Regions from separate parts of the Homo sapiens genome. Here region 1 is linked to region 2. Evidence: promoter capture Hi-C in 16 types of primary human blood cells and fetal thymus (Javierre and others, 2016). All regions are on one chromosome and are shown on one strand. Each heading gives the region's core, a stretch centred on a gene start or on the middle of the fragment in contact. The rest is flanking DNA. Distances are from core to core; before and after follow the strand shown.

Region 1 (3,344 bases), core at 590-3,089, 120 kb after region 2:
TCATTTCAACCCCATATATACATACATACATATGTATTACCTATCATATGCCAGACAGATAGTAAGTTAGTAAGTGCTTCAAAAATTCCTTCTTGGAAGGAAATGTCCTTTCTACAGCCTCAATCCAAAATGAATGGTTGTGATTTTTTGGAGGTAGTCTTTTTAAAGCTCCCCTGACTCAAATAGCCTAGCTGAGTGAAGGGACAGCCTTCTCAGGGCCCTGTGGGCCTGTCACAAGCAATGATTTATGGCTTGTGACAGCACGTGCTCATGTTTGAAACCACAGCTTGCTGAGGCTAGAGTGGGTTTCTGAGGCTTTTGTGTAATGGGCTTTGTTTCATGCTAATAAACACAAAAACTTCTTCTCTATAAACATGTTCCTTATGGACCCCTGAGGCTATAGTGCTGATGAGTTTATTTTTTTAAAGAAAAATAGGATGAACTACAACCACCCAATTAGAGAGACTCAGTCGGATCACTAGAAGCTTTCAGTCCTGGACACAACAGAAGAGGTTTTAAGGGACTCATGCAGGAGAAACCATAATGAGAAAAACACGGAATTTGCTTTTATTCTTAGAAGCAGCTTTGTTTTATCTCTAGGCTCAGAGCTGTGCTGCTGGAACTGAACTCATTTCCCAACAAACTGTTTTTGTTTCTCACTTGTTATGTGAATAACCTCAGAAATGCAGGCATCTTAGTCCCTGCAAGTGCAAAGAGTTTGACGACACAATGAGTAGCTGTGGACAATTTCCAACTCTCACCCGGAAGCCTGTACCTATTGGAAGAGAGTCGCCAAATCCTAGGATGGTTCTGATCCAGGAGCCTCCCTAGGGAAATGTTAACAAAGAGGATGAAACTAAAGAAGTAATTCTCTAGGTACTGCTTTTACCCATGGGCTATTGCCCAGACACTGCCATGTGTGCATTTTTTAAGATTATTTGTGGATGATGGGATCATGGGCAGCTGATGAAGAAAAACATCAGAATAAAAGTTCTAAAGCATAGTAAGCCTCCACCTGTGGAGCCACCCTGATGTGCAGATATATTCTAAAGTTTGAGTCCAAGCTGTTCCAGATCAATGCCATTAAGATTAGGGCTGCATCTCTTCACTGAGCTAGCCAGCTCTGAGATACCACAGCAGAGTTCTGATTACATACATCCCTTCCTTATCTTCCTCTAATTTTTTTTCCTCTGTTGATTCCCCCATTGTTGGCATATCTTATCAAGGTTTGTTTTTCTTTAGGTCGTTATTAAAAATAAGAGAGAAAGATGTACTTGCCTACTCTTAAAGTGGATCTTAAAGCAGATGTGTTTGTTCCATCAACTCATCCTCCGTTCATAGTAGCATATTCAGTACAGATACATTTATTAAACACTAATACCAGCCATATCCTGTACCATGCACTAGGATTCAATAGTGAGCAAAACAGAAACTTAAAACCATAACCAAAAAATCAAAGAAATATAACACTGTAAACTATAATCAGTGGCACAGAGGAGAAGTACAAGCTACAAGAAGAACTTGTAGCTGGGGATCTGATAAAGGCTTATGAGTCACAGAAGCTTTCCTGAGGGATGGTTTTTTTTGGATCAAGACCTGATGAATAAGTAAAAGCAAAAGCAAGATAATTCTGGGCCACAGAAGCAGCAGGTGCAAAGGTCCTGAACCAAAAGGAATTTGGCATATTGGTGGAACTGAAAGCAAGAGAGTGTTGCCAGAAAGCCAAAGATGAGTGGAAGATGACAAAGGCAGGGTTGGGAAGCAGTGGCCACATCAAGTAGGACCAAAGACATTGGGTTTTTAATCTACAAACCAATGAGATACATTTAACGTTTAATAAAAAGAGATATGATCAGATTTGTTTATAAAATATTAAAATAACTGCAGCATGTAGAGCTGATTAAAGAGAGGGTGTGGTGGTTTTAAAGTATGATCACAAATTCTCTTATATTCTTTGTTTCAATAGTTGGAGTATAATTCTTCTCTTGAGTGTGGATGGGTTCAGTGATTCACTCCTAATAAAAACGGACAATGCAGCCCCTACCACATTCTCTTTAATCATTTGTTCTGGAGGAAGCTAGCTGCCCTGTGATGAGAAACTAAAAACTTCTAGCAAGAAGCTTGGAACTCCAACAGCCATGTGATCCAACTAGGGAGCAAATCCTCTAGCCACAGTCAAGCCTTCAGATGATGGTAGCCTCTGTCAACATCTTGACAGACTCCAAGTTAGAACAAACCAGCTTAATGGCTCCTGGCCTCCCGACGTTCAGAAACTGTGTGAGAATATAATTATTTGTTATTTTAAGCAGCTAAATGTTGGAATGATTTGTTGTGCAGCAATAGATACTAAATATAGAAGGTAAAAACAGATATTAGTAGGATGTTTCCACAGCAGCCCAAACAGATAATGATGCCTTAACTTAAAGTGAATGCTACTCAAGTACATCTTCACTTCCTCTTTCTAAGCACACACCATGGGTATCAGATATGACCACTGGAAAGCAGTAGAGGTAGCTTTGAATCCAGGGTTTGCTATTTGATTATAGAGGATCTTGTAGCGCCTCTCTATAGCAAGGGTTGTTTTATTCAAATGATGGAGCCACTAATATTACTTCCCTCTTAGATTACATGAGAGATGCATGTAAAGTCCATAGTAAAGGTGTTAGAGCATAGCAATTGACAGTTTTTATTATTATTATTATTTAGAGTATATCCATATAGATGATAATTTCTCTCTCTGAATCCTGTTCTTTGCTATGAGAATAATCGCCATTAAACACCACAGTATCACTTTCCTTATCAAATTACATTCATGGATTCCCATTACTTTCAAAATACACTTGCAATTTTTGGGCCATATATTAGGGGTTTCTACCTTGAAGTGCCACCTTGCTACCTACGTGAAAGTGAAACTCTGCTCCCTGCAAATTCTTCTTCTCCTTAGTTTATTTTTTCATGGCTTGTGATGTTTGGTTGAGTCACTTAATTTCTATTATCCTTAGTTTTCACACCAATATATTGTACATATTAATAAATACCTACTCCTTCCCACTGTGCAGGGAAAGCATAATAAAAGTTCAATTGTTCATTGTGACAAACTTATCCTATTTACAAGAAGCCTGAGCCATGTATGTTGCACCTCCTGCATACACATACATAAAAATCAAAGAGCCACCAAAGAGCATTACTCTGGAGGTTTTACTAACTTTGAGGAGGCACTTCAGGCGTCAGGCCTCAGGTCTCTACTGGTTTTAACTCACTTTCAGCATATTGAGCCCATCTTCCTCATCTCTAGTTTCCCAAAAGAAGTTTGAGATGTTGATTAATCACTGCTGATTCATTCT
Region 2 (3,018 bases), core at 97-2,596:
ATATTGAAAGTGAAGCTCTTAAACATTTTCTTTGTGAAAATGATTTATCATATATAGACATACCAACACAATTAGAGACACAACATAGCTTAGCTGATTCACTACTTCCCTGCCTTACTATACATTTTACAAATTAGAAAACCAAAACTAAGAAAAATTAAATGACTTCTTCAGTGATGGCCTGTGGCAGAGCTGCAACTACACGCCAGGAGTATTCATTAAGTGGTTCATTGTTTTTTTCATTCTAATTTATTCATTGAGGTTGAGCGGAGCGTGGTAAGAAACTAGGAACGAACAAAAACTCCTGCTTCCTAAACAGGGAATGGTCATGGGTGTCTTGGGTCAGCTACTCTGAAATATTAAGTTAATATTTCACTTGCCTTTGACTCTGTGAGGCAGGAGGTTATCTCTGGAAAGAAAGAGAAATATCCAACTGCTAGGGAAGGTTTCTTACATTCATGTTTGATTTTTCTTCTACTCTTTTGACCACCATCAACAAGACTTTAGTTACAGTTAAAGGGAAAGTTTTATTGCATGTAAACTTTTTTCACATCGGACACTTTTCCTGGCTTTCCAGAGCAACAGCTAGATAAATAGTGCTTGCCAGAAAGTGGAGAAACTAATACTAAATGAATCCACTGCCTACATCCAGGAAGGTTCAGGAGCCAGGAATTCAAAATCCTTGGTGTCAAGTGTCACCCAAAACTTAGGGTTGGGGAGTGGAGAAAGGCTTTCGGTTAAGAACTCTAAGATTCCTGCTTCTGTCTTCTCTTATATCATCCTTTGATGCACCCCTCTACATAACATTCCCCCGGAAAAATAAAAAAAATACAAACTCTGCTGCTGTTGAGGATGCAGATGATTATTTAATAATAGAAAATGTTCTTGCAACTTGTAAACGATATTCACACCCTGTTGCCCCCTCCTCGCCCAAAATGTATAAACCCATATTAGGCCTCGAACAAGCCGGATGGACACAAATGAGCAGAACACTGGTGGGTATTTCTGGGATTAGGGCTAAGCTTCATTTTCTTTTCAGCCTTTTCTTAAGCGTCCGCATTCTCCACTATGCATTTATTACGTTGGTGCAAAACTAATTGCACCAACCTATATATGTAATTAGAGAAAAGTAATTACTTTTGCAACAACCTATGTATGTAATTAGGGAAAAGCTATATCTAGCATATTTTTAAAACTCTTTGAGAGGTGAAGGGTAGTTATTTCCTGCTGGGTAGTGTACTCCTTTTCCTAGCTTCACAAACAAAACCCGGATGTGACTTGGAAACGGAAAAAAAAAAAGGAGCGGGGGTGCGCGGAGAACACAAAGTAAAACTTCTGCTGTTCCCAGTCCTGCAGCCCCAGCCCAGCCGTCCCCCGCGGGCGTGGCAGGTCCTGAGTCAGGGCCTGTCCGTGGCCAGCATCCCTGCTGGGCGATTGAGCAGCGGGAAGCTGCTTGGACCCAGTCTCAAACTTAACCCTCATCTAGCACCCGGGCAGGCCTCCTGGGTTGCAGGGACTTGAGAAAAGGCAGAGTTCTCAGGTCCTAGGAAGCTGGGGCACGCTGGCGTGACAAGCGTCCCGGAGAAAGCCAAGCCCTCGGGGAGCTGGGGACCGCAGCAGGGCTGCAGTCACATCCTGCGCGGGTGGGCGGCGGGCCAGGCCTTCAGTTGTTTCGGGACGCGCCGAGCTTCGCCGCTCTTCCAGCGGCTCCGCTGCCAGAGCTAGCCCGAGCCCGGTTCTGGGGCGAAAATGCCTGCCCTTCACATCGAAGATTTGCCAGAGAAGGAAAAACTGAAAATGGAAGTTGAGCAGCTTCGCAAAGAAGTGAAGTTGCAGAGACAACAAGTAAGTTGGCTGTTCCGGAATATTTCCTTCTCTGAAATGAAGCAGGGTCCGATTTTTCCTGCTTAGTAACAGTAAAGCAAATAGTTTAGCTTATTTTTCCCCCTTTTTGTAGCTTCTCTTCTCACCACCCTTTGGCAGTGCCTGGGGACTGCCAGCTGATGTGGGGAAATCCTAGGAGGTAGAGGAGGGAGCAAGGATCTGATAAGTAATTTAAGGCCAAATGTCCTAACTTTTAAGATGCCTAGGAAGGGGAAAATAGACAAGAAATCTTGCTTTCCATTAGACAGCTGTTTTTCAAAACTCACTTGTAGGAAAAAAGCGGATAGCTACTTGGTTCTTTGATCTTTTACACTACTAGAAAGGATGATATTTGAAAGAAATTTTCTAAAACCGTATTTTAAAGTCTTACAAGTACATTATTTAATTTTGAATTTCACCAGTGGCCTTCAGTGATATGCAAAGAACAGTCCACCGAAATTTGGGAACAAAATATTAGAATTTCTATATTTATTTGTAAATCTCATCCCTTTATAATTTTCACTTTATGTTTTATTAGTATGCGATTAATACAGTAGTATCTGTACTTATTTATAAATAATTATACATACACTGTGGTGCATATGAAAAATTTTTTTAGTGATCACAATTTTAAAGTTTTAGAGACTATTGATAGAGATTACCATTTCATTGAGAACATATGACCCAGTATTCAATATTCTCCACTGAAACGTCTCGGGAGTTTTATAAGTTTTACTTCAATTTCTTACTGGTCATCAAGACCTTCCTTCAGACACTAATCCCTCTTCCTGTTTTAACTCAATCAGGCATCCTGTAGACTAGGAAAGGTCTTTGAATAGATATTGTTTAAAGATAATTAACCTTTCCTCTTCAGCAAGAAAATTTTGAACTGATCTTATTTATTATGGTTTAGCACTAGAAAAAATTAAGAAAAACAATGGAAATGAAGCGTTATAATATGCTCACTTGCCTTCCTGTTCTAGTTATAATAAATCTGTTAAGGGCAAGAGTCTTCACTGTTGAGTGATGATTAGAAGATGCAGGCATTTTTGTGTTTTACTTTTTACATATTTCTTTTCTCAAATTTAACCTTTCACATCCAAATCCCGGCTCTTCCTAGCTTTTATAATGAGCTGTCCCTTCTATCATGTTAAG

What was found. Contacts are between HindIII fragments. The CHiCAGO score rates a contact against its expected background, and 5 or more counts as called.
Region 1: a fragment that was not itself captured here is called in contact with the fragment with the promoter of GNG11 in region 2 in 1 of 17 cell types (endothelial precursors); the score reaches 5.0 in endothelial precursors.

Annotation. Positions count from the first base shown.
Region 1 is chr7:94,040,135-94,043,478 of GRCh38, forward strand. All of the region lies in intron 1 of LOC130890646 (a long non-coding RNA gene), which reads left to right. Among named protein-coding and RNA genes, the nearest start is that of BET1, 37 kb to the left of the region's middle. The HindIII fragment of the contact is 558 bases long and covers 1,561-2,118 here.
Region 2 is chr7:93,920,389-93,923,406 of GRCh38, forward strand. It overlaps GNG11 (G protein subunit gamma 11), which reads left to right and starts at 1,347. Exons shown (of 2, transcript NM_004126.4): 1 at 1,347-1,845. The coding sequence starts at 1,750. All of the region lies in intron 1 of LOC105375402 (a long non-coding RNA gene), which reads right to left. RefSeq lists an enhancer at 949-1,584. The HindIII fragment of the contact is 4,145 bases long and covers 1,021-3,018 here.